6 separate regions of the Homo sapiens genome follow, and regions 1, 2, 3, 4 and 6 are each linked to region 5. Evidence: promoter capture Hi-C in 16 types of primary human blood cells and fetal thymus (Javierre and others, 2016). All regions are on one chromosome and are shown on one strand. The core of a region is centred on a gene start or on the middle of the fragment in contact, and the rest is flanking DNA. Distances in the headings are between cores, read along the strand shown.

Region 1 (2,700 bases), core at 168-2,667, 1.1 Mb after region 5:
CCCAGCCATTCTGAGGATAGCCATCTATGGTTGGTGGAAATAGCTGTGGCATTCTCCAGAAAGTCTGAATAACTGAGGCACTTGGCAGAGTAATTGTTTTTTGTGGCCAAAGAGAAGCAAGAGAATAATCATGGAACAGAGCCAGAGCCTGCAGTGGAGGGCTGATGGAGGGTATAGGAACCATTGCCCTCCTTGCCCAAACTAAGATGTCCCATAGAAAGATTCACCTGAAGACTTTAAAAAGCTTGTTAGAGCCTGTCTGGAATCAACCAAAACTCAGTTTCAAAGGCCCTTATCTCTCAAATATTAGCATGGTGGACTCTCCTTTGGTTTATCGTTTTACCCATGTATCACCTTTCCAAAGAGGCTTCCTTGATTGCTCACGATGGTTAACCTAGCACCCTTTTCACTCTCTCTTTTTATACTATTTTTTATTTTCCTTTATATTGATTATCACCACATGACACAATTTCATGTATTTGTTTGTTTATTTGCCATCTCTCCTCCTAGAATGTAATCTCCAGAAATGCTGAGAGTTTGTCTATTTCACTGATCACTGTATGCCAAGCACCAGGCAATAGCATGAGATTAATACATATTTGTTGATTGAATGAATGAATGGCCATTTTCTTGGGCAATCAAAATTTCTCCCATTCTTTGTATTCTGCTAGAAATTCCAAACTCTCCAGGTATGGAAAAGCTAGGCAACAGCAACTTTTTACTGAATGTTTCCTAAATGACTTTTATTTCATATTTTTGAAATTAAGAAAATAGATTACTATAATAAGTAGAAGAAAATAGATCACTCAGGTAAAAATTAAATATACATGCTCAAACCTTGGTAAATTGAAAAATGCCTCTTCTCTCTTGATTCCCCTCCTTTCATTCCCCCAATAAAGCAAGAAAAGATCATTGCTTCTTAGTGTTTATTAGCTTGAAACACTTTTAACTTTTTTAGTGAAGAGTTCACGTGGGTCAGAATGACACATAAGCATGTGAGCCTTTCTTCCAAATCAATCAGTTGAAATGGGAACATGAATTTATTTGAGTGAGGCTATAAATACTGCCTTGAAAACGCCAACCATCACAAATAAGTACTGATAATAAACCTGAAATATACTGATACAGAGTGATGCAGGATTTTTTGCTCCCTAATTCAGCTAAAATCCAGGTTCTTGTCACATGACCACGAAAAATTAAGCATGTGGACACATTGAAAGGTGAGGAGAGTGAAATTTATTAAAAGAAAGCTCTCAGTGAAGAAAAGGGGGCCTGCCAACAGGCTCCCAACTGACAGACTGAATGCCCGGCCAGCACACACGAGGTGAAGAGGCTAGGCTCCTCTGCCGTGCTCAAGGTGCGAATTCCCGGTGGCTCCACCCCACTCTCCCAGTGCGCGGGCGGTCCCCCAGTCAGATGTGGGCATGCCCAGACAAGGCCCTGGGCAGGTTCTCTCATATGCACGAAAAGCATCTGATGTAAACACTTGTGGGGTGAGTTGGAGATTCTCTGAGTACCCTCCCTCATCTGCCTCCTGAATCTATCAAGAGTACATTATATTTCCGATGGAATAGGGTGACTTTATTCATGAAAGGCATAAATGCAGTCAACTAAGGTAGAATCATTTTTTAAAGAATCTGCTTATTAATTAGAGAGGCATCCATAGAACATCTTTTGGACCAAGTCTTCTGATTTGCTAGGAAATGTCCTCTTTCTCTGTGTTCTGGGAATTTGGAGCTCACCTCCTCAATCCATATGAAGATACAGTCTTCCTCAACTGTGACACTCTTCTCTCCTCTTAGGGATAGACATTCATTCTAGGGACATGCTGGGGACCAAACTGGGCCAATGAGACTCCTTCCTTTGAGATTTGGAATTGAGACCAAAGATTTCAACTCTTTCAAACATAGGAGATATAATCTAGTGTGGGAGTTGTTGATGGTTAATACTTTCTGCTCCATGTCCCGAAAAACAGGGAGAGACAGTGTGCAGAGACTGAAGAATGAAGGAGACTTGGAGGGGAAGCTGAGGCCTGCGAAGGAGGGCCTCTTGGTTTCCTGATGGTGTGTGGGGCCTTGCTTCCAGCTGGCCATTGAAGTCCTGCTGTATCTCTGTCCTTGGGTTCTGTGAGGCAAACTCATTACTTATTATAAATCCCCCATTCCCCACCAGTCTAGCTCATTTGGGTCTTGAAGACTAAACACTGACTTTTTTTTTCTTATATTGCCCAAATTCCTACCTAAGGGGCCTGGGGGAGACACACCCTGCAAACCATAAAGTCTCATCAGAGAGGTTTTATTTAACCCTCTATAATCTGACCTTCTTTCTCACCTGACTCTGGCATAACATCACATAACAAGGAAATAAATCAAAATATTTTAAAACCCAAGTGTATTTCCTTGTCATATTCTTGAAATGGCCCTGCAAAGTTGTCTCTTTTGGGAAAAATCCACATTCTGTAGAGAACCGCCTTTCCCTGCCCTTTTTTTTTTCTTTCCAGATCCAGGAGATAATCAACTAAGAGTCAGGCATCCTTTTAAATCCGATAAGAAAACATTGTACAGCCTCTTCTCTCTGAAGCCTGCTAGCTAAAAGCTTCCTCTACACAATAAAACTTTGGTCTCTGGCCAGACGCAGTGGCTCACGCCTGTAATCCCAACACTTTGGGAGGCCGAGGCAGGTGGATCACGAGGTCAGGAG
Region 2 (2,734 bases), core at 54-2,553, 1.0 Mb after region 5:
TTTATTTTTATTTTGGGTTTGCTGGTACATGTGAAGGTTTGTTACATAGATAAACACATGTCATGGGGGTTCGTTGAACATATTATTACATCACCCAGGTATTAAGCTCAGTACCCAATAGTTATCTTTTCTGCTCCTCTACCTCATATAACCCTCCCCGCTCAAGTAGACCCCAGTGTCTGTTGTTTCCTTCTTTATGTTCACAAGTTCTTATCCTTTAACTCCCACTTATAAGAGAGAACATGCAGTATCTGTTTTTCTGTTCCTGAGTTAGTTTGCTAAAGAAGAGAGCCTCCAGCTCCACCCATGTTCTCACAAAAGACATGATCTAGTTCTTTTTTATGGCTGTATAATATTCCATGGTGTATATGTACATTTTCTTTTTTCAGTCTGTCACTGATGGGCATTTAGGTTGATTCCATATCTTTGTTACTGTGAACAGCCCAGCACAATTTATTGAATATAAAGTCTTTTTCCCATTGCTTGTTTTTGTCAGCTTTGTCAAAGACCAGATGGTTGTAGGTATGCAGCCTTATTTCTGGGCTCTCTATTCTGTTCCATTTGTCTATGTGTCTGTTTTTCTACAGGTTCCATACTGTTTTTGTTACTGTAACCCTGTAGCGTAGTTTGAAGTCAGGTAACGTGATGCCTCCAGCTTTGTTCTTTTTGCTTAGGATAGCTTTGGCTGCTGGGCTCTTTTTTGGTTCCACATGAATTTTAAAATAGTTTTTTTCTAGTTCTGTGAAGAATACTGATAGTAGTTTGATAGCAACAGCAATGAATCTGTAAATTGCTTTGGGCAGTATGGCCATTTCAATGATATTGATTCTTCCTATCCATGAGCATGGGAGGTTTTTCCATTTGTCTGCATCTTTTCTGATTTCTTTGAGCAGTGTTTTATAATTCTCATTATACAGATCTTTCACCTCCCCAGTTAGCTATATTCCTAGGTATCTTTTTTCTTTTTGTGGCAATTGTGAATGACACTGATGTGGCTCTTGGCTTGGCTGTTTTTGGTGTATAGGAATGCCACTGATATTTGTATATTGGTTTTGCATCCTTAAACTTTGCTGAACTTACCCAAAAGTCATTCAGCAGCATGCTGTTTAATTTTCATGTAATTGCATGGTTTTGAGGATTTTCTTAGTCTTGACTTCTATTTATATTGCACTGTGGTCCAAGAGCATGTTTGGTATGATTTTGGTTCGTTTGCATTTGCTGAGGATTGTTTTATATCCAATTATGTGATTGCTTTCAGAATTTTGAGGATTTTCTTAGTCTTGACTTCTATTTGTATTGCACTGTGGTCCAAGAGCGTGTTTGGTATGATTTTGGTTCGTTTGCATTTGCTAAGGATTGTTTTATATCCAATTATGTGATTGCTTTCGGAGTATGTTCCATGTGGAGATAAGAAGAATGTATATTCAGTTGTTTTAAGGTGGAAAGTTCCATAGAGGCCTGTCAGATCCATTTGATCTAATGTTGAGTTCAGGTCCTGAATATCTTTAACTTTCTGCCTTGATGACTTGTCTAATACTGTCAGTGGAGTGTTGAAGTCTCCCACTATTATCGTGCGGGAGTTTACATCTTTTTGTAGATTTCTAAGAACTTGCTTGATAAATCTGGGTGCTCCTGTGTTGGGTGCATATAAATTTAGGATAGTTAGGTCTTGCTCGATTGAACCCTTTACTAGTAATGCCCTTCTTTTTTTTTTTAATCTTTGTTGGTTTGAAGTCTGTTTTGTCTGAAATTAGGATTCTAACCCCTGGGTTTTTTTTTTTTTTTTTTTCCGGTTTTCTGTTTGTTTGGTAGATTCTCCTCCATCCCTTTATTTTGAGCCTATGAGTGTCATTACATGTGAGGTGAGTCTTTTGAAGACAGCATAGCACTGGGTCTTGCTTTTTTATCCAGTTTGTTGCTCTGTGCCTTTTAAGTGGGGCACTGAAGGTTAGTATTAATATGTGTGGATTTGATCCTGTCATTGTGTTGTTGGCTGGTTATTATGTTGGCTTGTTTGTGTGGTTGTCTTATAGTGTCACTAGTCTGTGTGTTTAAGTGTGTTTTTGTATTAGCTGGTAGTGGTCTTTCCTTTCTATATTTAGTGCTCCTTTCAAGATCTCTTGTAAGGCAGGCCTGGTGGTTAACAAATACCCTCAACATTTGCTTGTCTGAAAAGGATCTTTTTTTTGAGATAGAGTCTCACTGTTTCACCCAGGCCGGGCTGCAGTGGCGCGATCTCAGCTCACTGCAACCTCCGCCTCCCGGGTTCAAGCGATTCTCCTGCCTTAGCCTCCCAAGTAGCTGGGGCTACAGCTGCCTGCCACCACGCCCAGCTAATTTTTTTTTTTTTTGTATTTTTAGTAGAGACAGGTTTCACCATATTGGCCAGGCTGGTCTTGAACTCCTGACCTTGTGATCTACCCGCTTCAGCCTCCCAAAGTGCTGGGATTACAAGCATGAGCCGGCTAGAAATGAAATTCTTTGTTGAACAATTTTTTCTTTAAGTATGTTGTAGGCCCTCCTCAATCTCTTCTGGCTTGTAGGGTTTCAGCTGAGAGATCTGCTGTTAGCCTGATGGGGTTGCCTTTGCAGATGACCTACCTTTAACATTTTTTCTTTCATTTCAATCTTGGAAAATCTGATGATTATGTGTCTTGGGGATGATCTTCTTGTATAGAGTCTTTCAGGAGTTCTCTGCATTTCCTGAATTTGACTGTTGGCCTCTCTAGCAAAG
Region 3 (2,700 bases), core at 7-2,506, 1.1 Mb after region 5:
ACAAACTCTCAGTAGAAATGTGGATATTGAAGACTGCTGTTGAGGACTCAGAAGGAAGTAAGGAACATGCTATAGGAAACTGGAAGAAGGGAGATCCTTGTTATGTACTGGCGTAAAGCTTAGTGAAATTATTTCTTGCAATTACGTTGAAAGCAGAACTTGTAAATGGATGAATTTGGTTATATAGTTAAGGAGATTTCCAAGCAAAGTGTTGAAGGGGACAACTGGTTTCTTCTTGCTACTTACAGGAAAATTCAAGAAAAGAGACAAATTGAGAGAAGAACTATTAAGCAAAAAGGAATCAGGACTTGATAATTTAAAAAATCCTCATCTTCCCCAGATGGCAAAAAATATTAACAGTTGGAGATGGCTTTTGGGCACTGTCAGAAAAGCCTACTCTAGAGAAAATGCACTTGAAGTTACTCTATAATCTTTTTTAAAGCCCCCAAAAGATCAAAGGTCAGAGTACTCAGGGGTATTTCAAGATACGGCCCTTAGATTTGAAAAGATCTAAGGGTATGCCTCAGATCCTCTCAATCACACTATTGAGCCTCTAGGAAGCTTAAAGGAGATGGAATTATTTTTGAAACAATCTGTAGATGTGGCCTTTGTCTGATAAGAGTGAATGCCACTGAAATACAGAAAGAACCACAACATTCTTGAGAAAATTATTTCTGCAGAAACAGTGCCAACTTGGAATAAGACAGACAGAAAGACTAGAAAATGAAAAGAGGCTGTCAGACCTCCAAAATTTTACTGGCAGAAAGCAGGCTGATAAAACTACTCATCTGCAAACACATGCTACCTTCCATGAAAAAGGAAGAATGACTCAGATGGTGGAACCAAGAACCCAGAAAGCAGAGCCAAGAGCCATGAAGAATCATTCCCAAGCCTAGAAACTTAATTAAGGAACTTCCAATAAATCCAGTTGTATTTCAAAACTGCTATAGACTAGTGACTCCTTTTTACTACCCATTTCCCCTATTTTTAAACTGGAATGTCTATAGCTATTATCCTGTGTCTGTCCCACCATTGTATGTTGGGTGTGTTGGAGGCAGATAACTCATTTCCTTGGTTTCAGAGGTCCATAGTTAGAGAATAATTGTGTCCAGGAGCTTTACTTAACAGGTTATACGTAGGAGGCTCATCTGCACCTGGACTTGATTCACATGATGAAATTTTAGAATTTGAGCTGATGCTATAATGAATGAAACTCTTGGGAACTGATATGGTTTGTCTCTGTGTCCCCACCCAAATCTCATCTTGAATTGTACTCCCACAATTCCCATGGGTTGTGGGAGGGGCCCTGGTGGGAGATAATTTGAATTATGGGGGAGGTTCCCCCATACTGTTCTCATGGTAGCAAATAAGTCTCACGATATCTGATGGTTTTATCAGGGGTTTTATCAGGGGTTTCCACTTCTGCATCTTCTTCATTTTCTCTTGCCGCCGCCATGTAAGAAGTACCTTTCACCTCTCAGCATGATTCTGAGGCCTCCCCAGCCATGTAAGTCCAATTAAACCTCTTTTTCTTCCCAGTCTCAGGTATGTCTTTATCAGCAGTGTGAAAACGGACTAATACAGGAACCTTGGAAGGGGAGAAACCATATATTTCATATGGGAGGGCCTGAGGAAAGACTGGCAGACAGAACCTAGGCTGATTCTCCAATGACCCCCACTTTCTGATATCAATGCCCCTGTTAATTACATCCCATGAATATGGGAGGAATCTGTGAAGCATCTAACTTATAGAATATGGCAAAGGTGACAGAATGGCATTCCTATGATAACATTATGTTATGTAAGACTTCATATTGCTAGTAGACTCTTCTGCTGGCCATGAAGAAGCAAACTGCTATGTTGCTGCCTATGGAGTAGACCACATGGCAGGCAACTTGAATGGACTCTAGGAGCTAATGGCATCCTCCAGCTGACAGCCAACCAGCACACTGAAGCTTTCAGTCCTATATCCTCAATGAAATAAATTCGTTCGGCAAACCATATGAGCTTGGGAGCAGATGAGCTTCCCAATGAGAACACAGCCCACCTGATGCATTGACTCTAGCCTGGAGAGACCTGGAAGCAGAAAATCCAAATAAGCTGTGTCTGTACTCTTGACCACAGAAACTGGGATATAATACATGTTATTGTTTTAGGCTGCTAGATTTGGTAACTTGTTATCCAGCAATAGATTACAAGTGCAGTCAAAGATTGTCCCAGAGAGTGTTAACTTCTTTACTCTTCCAGGTTGTACATGCCTAAGCGCAGAGTGGGTTCTCATTGGCATCCATGCCATATCATCAGAGCAGCACAGGTTTTGAAATGATAAATATGTGGTACAGTTGCACAAAACTGGTTGCCATAGCAATAGTTGGTATAAAAGGTAGGCTGAAAGGATGTGAAAAAGATTATTCTAGTTTGTCTCATCCTGGCTACCATTTCAGGGAGTCTGTGTTGCTTGACTGGGTGGGGGCAACCAGATCATCATCTCTGAAGGGTCTGAACTCTAATTCTTGCTCTTCAGTGAGTCTTAATTATTACAATTACCCATTTATACTTATCACCAGACATGGAGCACGAAGAAATAACTCAGTGAATCCTATGTGTTCCATGCATCGGACTTCCTGTCTCCATTGGGTAGCAGCAACTCTATTTCATATGGGTAATCAAGGTCAGTTATCACCACCAAGATAGTAAGTG
Region 4 (2,700 bases), core at 65-2,564, 1.0 Mb after region 5:
AGCTACTCTTAAGTATTTACCAAAGAAAAATGGAAACATGTCCACTCAAAAATTTGTACATGGATGTTCACAGTAGCTTCATTTACAATAACCGAAAATTACAAACAAGTCAAATGTCTATCAAAAGGTGAATGGATAAACAAATTGGATATTCATTACAATACTGTAATAGTATTCCTATACCATGGAATACTATCCCAAAATAAAAAGGAATAATCTCAAAAATATGCAGGGCAAAATAAACCAGACAAGAGTACATACTCTATGATTCCGTTCATATGAAATCTTAGAACAGACAAAAGCAATCCACAGTAACAGAACCCGAATCAGTCATTGTCTGACATAGAGTAGGAAAGGGAAAGATTAAGTTCAAAGGGCACAAGAGAATTTTGGGGACTGATGGAAAGTTCTATATCTGTATCTATTGTGGTAGCAGTAACATGGGTGTATACATCTGTCAAAATGAATCAAACTATGTACTTAAAATGGTTTCATTTTATTCAGGTGTAAATTATACCTGAATAAAGTAGTTTGGGTTTTTTTTAGTATTTTTTTTAAGTGATATTGGGGGGGTGTGAGGTGGAAAGCAGGAAAGACTACAGAAGTAGCGAAAGGCAAAATGATGCTGTTTAAGTAACAATGTTTAAAATCAGAAAAAATGTAAAAAATCTAGCACAACTAGGCCTGGTGTGGTGGCTCACACTTGTAATCCTAGCGCTTTGGGAAGGCGAGTCGGGCAGATCACCTGAGGTCAAAAGTTAGAGACCTGCCTGGCCAACATGGTGAAACTAAAAATACCAAATACTAAATACTAAAATACTAAATATTAAATACTAAAAATACCAAAAAAAAAATCAAGCCCAACTAAAACCAAGAGTGTAACTGAGATAATTAATTTTGTCTGTAAAAATGGGAATAACTCACAGGATAGCTGTAAAAAATAGATGAGATAGTTAATCTTATCACTGTACTACTTAACACTATGTATGCTGGTAAATTACAGCAACACAATTCATATTAGTTGAATTTGTATCTACCCATGGTAAGTGTTAAGGTGAAGCAAAGAAAATAAGTAAAAGTAACATGGAATAAATCCTGAAAGAATTTCTAGAGGAAATTATCTTAAGATGCCACTTTTGAAAAGAGAAAAGGAAATGGGTGGAAAGGAAGGAGAGACCTACAGGTGGAGGGAATGGTAATGTGCAGAAGAACGGAGGCGGAAAGGAGCAAGTCATATGTATGAGATGGCAAAATTAGCATGCCTGTGGCAGCAAATCCATATATAGGAGTATCAAAAAAAAAAAAAAAAAAACGAGTAATCTTCCCATCTGACGCGAACACTCATTTAAATGTTACAGTAGGACCCAGAAATGTAACTTCATCCAGTGGATGCTATGATACATGATAAATATATTCAACCATTTAAAACAGAGAAAAATAAAAAGTTCTATCTTTGTGTTTAAAAAATGAGAATGCTTACAATTACCAGCTTCAGTCTCTTGGAGGTTAGCCACAGTTCTTCCCAAAAGAAAAAAAAATTATAATTATTAAAATATAATTATAGCTAAGCAACATATGGACTTGCTGTGCAGCTGTCCCTGTGCTTCTGAAACTATGAAAGCCTTTACATTTTGCAAAGTCTGATTTCTATAAATGACTGGTATTTGGAAAATAAGATACAAGAAAATCTGCCCAAGTAACTAATCAGCTACAACAAGAATTATTTCATAGCATACTACTTAAAAGGTATCAAGACACTAAAATTGTATTTCAACAGACATAGTATGACCAAGATCAGGATTCCTGGGCATTTATAACTTTAAACTGTTTTTACATTTATACATTTAAACGTGTTTAATTAAAGAATGCAGGGTTACCACTGTTATGATGTGCAAACTAACTTAAATCTTAAGATTTTGCTTATAGAACAGTGTTTCATATACAGAAAAGTATTATTTTCAATGTCTTATCACTGAGAAGAGATAACAAAGATAATAGTTATAGTAATAACTTGAGCAAATTAAGTTCTCTGAATGAGAGAAATCTACAGAAATGTACGATGAGAGAGATTCACAATGAGAAATAAAATATTAAAGGACAACAGGCCAGGCACGGTGGCTCACACCTGTAATCCCAACACTTTGGGAGGCTGAGGCAGGTGGATAACTTAAGGTCAGGAGTTCAAGACCAGCCTGGTTAACATGGTAAAACCCCGTCTCCACTAAAGATAGAAAAATTAGCTGGGCATGGTGGTGGGTGCCTGTAATCCCAGCTACTCAGGAGGCTGAGGCATGAGAATCACTTGATCCCAGGAAGCAGAGGTTGCAGTGAGCTGAGATCGTGCCACTGCACTCCAGCCTGGGCAACAGAGCAAGACTCCATGTCTAAAAAATAAATAAATAAAATAAAATAAATAAAGACAGTAATACTGACCTTTAAACGCAGTAGCACCAATGGAGATTGCTGAGGACAACAAAGTTACAGGGTTAAATTAATTTAAGTCTCTTTATTGAGAAAGGCTGTTATATAGTGGCAGTCAGCTAACTAACAAGGTTTTATCTGCTCCATCTACATCAAGGCCATACCAATTAGAGACCTTGACTCAGAGTAGAGAATGTAGAGGTTAAAGAATAACCTTAACGACTTTTGCTTTTTGAACCCATATATTATACATCAATGTAGTCACTAAAATATTTACAA
Region 5 (2,700 bases), core at 69-2,568:
AGAAACCCTTGAACATGTTAACCAGAAGACATGTACAAAGATGTTTTAGCAGTATTGTTTATAATTGCAAGCAATTGGGAACAATCCAAATGTCCACCGATAGTAAAATGAAAAAATAAATTGGGGTATATTCATACAAGGAAACACCACATAACAGTGAAAAGACTAAAACTACACCCGCAAGTATCACCCTGTTTGAAAAACAAAAAGCTAAATCTAAGAAGACACAGAAAAATGCATACGGTCCACTTTCATGTATATAAAATTAAAAAACAGGCTAAATTAAGCCACTTCATGACTACAAGAAGAGGAACAGAATGCAACACAATTCAGGGTGGTTACGTCTGATACAGGAAAAGAGAATATGATCTGAGAGGTGCACGTAAGGGTTTGAGGGGTATGGTAATGCTCTATTTTACTTAGTCTGAATGCTAGTTTCCCGCATGGTTTTATTAAACTCTATATAAGTTGTATCCCCTGCTATGTACGTTACATAATCATTTAATGAGCAACAACAAAGAAACTTTGAATACTTTCCCAATGCATCTAAATTGAGAGTTCAATGTTTTTAACACTTCCTATAAGCCTGGTTGAACAGATCCCCAGGCTATTTATGACTTCTCTATCATTCACACTGAAGAAAACGGGTAAAACCAGACTACAACGCAGGAGTTAACAATTAAAAGGTAACACAACCTAAACAGTAAGGGCTGTGTCGTCTAATATTTTAGCATCTGACAAACAGGAATTGATAATCTTTCAAAATGTCTTTACTGACAAACTAGAGCTAAGGACATGTCGGATAGCTCCTTTCCCCATACCTCACCCCATTATCAGGGTCCACTCTTGTATATCATGACTACCTATTCCCACCTCACCCTATTCCTCATTCCGTCAGTGACTTTCAGCCACCCGCAGGCTTACAAGGTTCTGCGTCGCCCTAGGCATTTTCTTAATACTCATCCTTTTACAAAAGACGTAATCCGCAACAGCTTCGCTTTGGGGACCCTTTAGCAAAAGCAATGAATTAGGAACACCTGGGTGGCACCATATCGGCCAGCCGTTCCTGTGGGCCCAGCCAAAATCTTATCAGCGATTATTCAGGTACTCAACTACACAGTACAGGCTCCAGGTGGTTTTATAAGTCCACGAGGAACGAAAGAAAAAAACATCGCAACTCAACGTACACAAACCCCAGGCTTCGGTTCCCACATAACATCACCTTGGTTCTCCGGCTTCGGCTTCTGGTTACGAAATTCACTTTTTCCAGCGCCTTTTTCTGGCCGCTCCAGCGAGGGAGACGCCATTTGCAAGCTGCTTCCGGTGGCTCCGGAAATGAAACTGTTCTTAAACCCTACCGGCTAAAACGCCTACACTCAAAATGAGTTCCGCGGAACTCAGACGAGGAGATCTGCGCAGTCTCCGTGCGTACGTGCGTTAAGCCCGCGCTTTTACACAAACCACAGCTTCTCCTACGTGGCCAATGAAGAGCCGGAGACTTTCTCCCAGTATGCCCTGAAACCATGGAGTTTGCGTACTGGGACTTGTAGTTTAGCAGGCGGTATAGGCAAATTGGATACTGTTTTATCCGTAGTTTCCTCGTGGCCTCACGGCCTAACCTGGACCATCGGACAGCGGAGTGCTACCAACCTGTCATTGATGTCATTCATTCTTTCGATAAATATTTATATGTTGGCCAAATATGCGCTAGATGTTGGGAGGAAGTACAAATATGAGAATACAATGTATATTGGGCCTCCACTGCAACAAGTGACAGGAATAGCTACTATTTATTGTGAGACTACTTTGTTTCAGTACTTTATTTACATTATTTCTAATTTTAAAAACAGTGACAAAATTAAACTTTTCAAAGTTGTTTCTGATGGTAATCTTCCCGAGTGTTGGTATTTCTCTAAGTCAGAGGGATGGTAATTCAACATCCTGACGTTTCTGAAGTATTTCAACTAGCCTAAGATTTCTCAAAATCTCTAAACTCCTTTTCTACCCCCAACATTACATAGGGCTAAGATGTGTAGAGAGGTTCATCACTAACTACAAATAACTACACTTTTGGAAGTATAAGAGTTCTTCGACATGCCAAATATAAGATTTTTTTAAATTTTGATTTTATTGCTTGCATTTCTAAAATTTTCTGCAGCAAATAGGGAAAGTCTTTGATAGGTTAAATTCCTTGCATTAGTGAAATACACGTTTGTCTGATAAATCCACTCTCGTGTATCTTATACAATAATTTAGGTTTTCATATATGAGATCCAGGTATGAAACAGATTGTTACATATGGACAGAAGAACCCACGACAGAGGGGTTTTTTGTTTTTATCCTGTGAGTTTTATAAATGACAGGGATTTTATCTCTGTTCTTTTAATTTCCTCAAAAAATGATAAATTCCTAAAATAGAACAGATAGCAGCAGGTGAAAGTTATAAAGTGAGGAGTACACCTCATGAAGCAGGTTTTTATCATTCTTATTTTAAGTAACTCAATCACTAATAAGTGGAAGGCCCGTCTTCAAGTTCAGGCAGTTTGACCTAGCAGCTTCAGGGGGCTACTATTCATTAGGAGCTTCAAATGTGTTAGAGGGCTGATAGGGATTAAGGGGAGGGAATAGTCTAGAAATAATATTTGTGTTAAAGCCCTTTATTTTATAGCAAAATTTTCTACATAGGCTTTTCTTCCCATT
Region 6 (2,700 bases), core at 102-2,601, 1.3 Mb after region 5:
TAATAGTGACACCTTTTACAGTTATTGTGAATATTAACTAGGCTAATGTTTATAAAGCAGTTTTCATAGACCTAGGCACATAGGCTGCCAAGCAAATTGTACCTTCTGAAGGCCCTGGCATATAGTGAATACTGAAAGGGAAGCTGCTGTTACTTTGTTTTCTTTTGAAATAGGTGATTATTTGTTTTATTGAAATGAAAGAAATTAAAGGCTCTTTGGATAAAGAAGAACTGATGATCAAGGGATTAGGGTACTAGTTCTAGCTCAGTGACCTTGAGCTAGTAGGTATTTAACTGGTCTCAGTTTTGTTGCTTTTAAGATAAAGTAGCTAGACTAGATGACCTCTAAGATTTCTTCAGACTCAAGTGTTCTGGTTTTAAATTGTGATTTTTCAATATAATCAACTTGAGCATCTGTCTACTAGGTACGTAGCATTGTGTTAGGTTATATGGGTTAAAATAACATAAAAAAGATAGCATATGTTTTCCAGAAGGTAAATAACTAGTTGGGAAGTTGTAGGCACGTGAAACACTGGACGATTCAAATAAGTACTGAATTAAGTAATGTAGCTTGTAAGTGGTGTCAGATTCCTGTCATTTAGAGTGGTTAGAAGAAAGGCTTCCGTAGAGGGACAGAGACCATATGTTGGTCTACTGGTCCAGCAGACTAGCCATGACCAGCTTCCATTTTACCTACTAGTACATCCTCAGTAAGTCATCTCAGCTCTTTGATAGAATGAGATCACAATATCCCCTTCTGCCACAGTATCACAGGGGCTATTTCAGAACCATCTGACTCAGAGCTTTGAACTGGATTGCCTAGATTATCTAGGGCTTTCATCTCTTTCTTTCTTCCTTTTTTCTCTATTTCAAAACTTCTGCTATTGCCTTTTTTTCTCATTTTCGTCTCTCTTTTTATGGTAACGTTTTTTATTTCACATTCATTTTATTATTTCTGATGATTTCTGTTTGAATATTAAATCAAACTATTGCTATTATCTACTGTCCTCACAGATTTCATAAAATCTACTTTTTGAAGCTTTTGGTTTTTTGCTTTAGTTTGAGATGGAGTTGCGCTCTTGTTGCCCAGGCTGAAGTGCAATGACGTGATCTCGGCTTACTGCAACCTCAGCCTCCTGCGTTCAAGCGATTCTCCTGCATCAGCCTCCCGAGTAGCTGGGATTACAGGTGCCTGCCACCACACGTGGCTAATTTTTTGTATTTCTAGTAGAGATGGGGTTTCACCATGTTGGCCAGGCTGGTCTGGAACGCCTGACCTCAGGTGATCCACCCGCCTCGGCCTCCCAAACTGCTGGGGTTACAGGCATGAGCCACCATGCTCGGCCATGAAGCTGTTCTTTAGTGAAAAGAATTTTGCCATTTTCTATTACTTTTTGCCCTATTATGTATATATTATATGTGTGTGTGTATATATATGTATTTGTACACATATAAGGTAATTCATTTGCTTTCAGAAAGCAGATACAAAATGACTTTGAAAGTTGTTTTTCTTCCCATAGGTTACCTGCAACTCTTTTCCTTCAAAGCACTTCTTTATGCAGTCACTAGGATTTGATGCCTTTTAAAAAATTCAGCAAAAATGTTATAGGTCATATAATAATAATCTAGATTTTAAAATAATGTATATTTTAAAATACTATATATTAAGCTTAGTAACTACTATGCTTAGTATAGTGACCACTGTTAAGCCCAGTAACCACTGAGCATTACTATTAAGCTTAGTAATCACTGAGTCAATAGATATAAAATTAAAATGTGATTAATTGGTGAGACTTCATGGATTGTGCTCAAAGCCAGAGTTGAAAATTACTGACCAAAAAATTGTTCTGGTTTTGAGAAATGTCATTTTCCTGATTCGGCTTGTTTTATTTTGTTCATTATTTTTATTTAATTTGGGAGGATCTCAAAAGTATTTATTAAGAGTGGACTGTGGAGTTGGTGGATATAAGAGTATATAGGTTAAAAGTGAGCAATGGTGTTAGGATTCAAATCTCAATTCTGCTCACTAGCTTGCAATCCTGGGCACGTTATTGAACTCTGCATCCCAATTTTCCAAACTAAAATGGGGGTATAATAACACCTACTTTATGAGGCTGTTGTGAGGATTAAGTGAGATAATACATGTGAAGTTCTGTGTCTGGCACTTAGTAAACAACAATAAGTGTTGGCTATTAATATTGTGGTAAAAAGTAGTACCTCAAATTGATAAACAATTGTAGTATGCATATATTAGAGTGGCTAAAATAATTAGTATTGGTTGTCTCTGGGGATTGAAGAGAAGATGGGCAGAGGACTTCTTATTATAAGCCCTTTTGCCCTATTTGATGTTTTTAAAGACGTGTGCTTTGCTACAAGGGAGTGTTTATTGAGAATCCAAGTATGGTCTTGACCCTTTGCTAGGCTCCGAAGTAATAACATTTACAAAATAACACATTGTAAAATGATGTAAGATTAACTGTAGACCTTCAGATACCTCAGGATAGATGAGGGAGAGTGTGTCTGTGTGTATTTTTTAAAATTAGAAATGATTCGTGGTCCTCCTTTCCTCCTAGAGAGGGTTGTAAGGGTATGTTAAGGTAGTCAGCATTGAACAGTTAAGGTGTCTTAAAATGCAGTGTGCTGGCCGGGCTTGGTGGCTTACGCCTGTAATTGCGGCACTTTGGGAGGCTGAGGCTGGCAG

The links. Contacts are between HindIII fragments. The CHiCAGO score rates a contact against its expected background, and 5 or more counts as called.
Region 1: a fragment that was not itself captured here is called in contact with the fragment with the promoter of KRR1 in region 5 in 1 of 17 cell types (total B cells); the score reaches 6.5 in total B cells.
Region 2: a contact is called between a fragment that was not itself captured here and the fragment with the promoter of KRR1 in region 5, in 2 of 17 cell types (total B cells and naive B cells). The highest score is 9.9, in total B cells.
Region 3: a contact is called between a fragment that was not itself captured here and the fragment with the promoter of KRR1 in region 5, in 4 of 17 cell types (total CD4 T cells, naive B cells, non-activated CD4 T cells and 1 more). The highest score is 7.4, in total CD4 T cells.
Region 4: a fragment that was not itself captured here is called in contact with the fragment with the promoter of KRR1 in region 5 in 1 of 17 cell types (total CD4 T cells); the score reaches 6.5 in total CD4 T cells.
Region 6: a fragment that was not itself captured here is called in contact with the fragment with the promoter of KRR1 in region 5 in 3 of 17 cell types (naive B cells, total B cells and non-activated CD4 T cells); the score reaches 7.5 in naive B cells.

Annotation. Positions count from the first base shown.
Region 1 is chr12:76,606,888-76,609,587 of GRCh38, forward strand. The region is part of intron 3 of LOC105369850 (a long non-coding RNA gene); the gene reads left to right. Among named protein-coding and RNA genes, the nearest start is that of OSBPL8, 48 kb to the left of the region's middle. RefSeq lists an enhancer at 991-2,190. The HindIII fragment of the contact is 2,351 bases long and covers 243-2,593 here.
Region 2 is chr12:76,511,975-76,514,708 of GRCh38, forward strand. The region is part of intron 1 of OSBPL8 (oxysterol binding protein like 8); the gene reads right to left. Among named protein-coding and RNA genes, the nearest start is that of OSBPL8, 46 kb to the right of the region's middle. The HindIII fragment of the contact is 3,113 bases long and covers 1-2,734 here.
Region 3 is chr12:76,590,892-76,593,591 of GRCh38, forward strand. All of the region lies in intron 3 of LOC105369850 (a long non-coding RNA gene), which reads left to right. Among named protein-coding and RNA genes, the nearest start is that of OSBPL8, 32 kb to the left of the region's middle. The HindIII fragment of the contact is 1,394 bases long and covers 560-1,953 here.
Region 4 is chr12:76,535,524-76,538,223 of GRCh38, forward strand. The region is part of intron 1 of OSBPL8 (oxysterol binding protein like 8); the gene reads right to left. Among named protein-coding and RNA genes, the nearest start is that of OSBPL8, 23 kb to the right of the region's middle. The HindIII fragment of the contact is 6,225 bases long and covers 1-2,700 here.
Region 5 is chr12:75,510,291-75,512,990 of GRCh38, forward strand. KRR1 (KRR1 small subunit processome component) reads right to left here and starts at 1,319. Exons shown (of 10, transcript NM_007043.7): 1 at 1,223-1,319. The coding sequence starts at 1,307. RefSeq lists enhancers at 532-1,076, 1,077-1,620, 1,127-1,286. The HindIII fragment of the contact is 5,214 bases long and covers 1-2,700 here.
Region 6 is chr12:76,768,015-76,770,714 of GRCh38, forward strand. All of the region lies in intron 1 of ZDHHC17 (zDHHC palmitoyltransferase 17), which reads left to right. Among named protein-coding and RNA genes, the nearest start is that of ZDHHC17, 5.2 kb to the left of the region's middle. The HindIII fragment of the contact is 630 bases long and covers 1,037-1,666 here.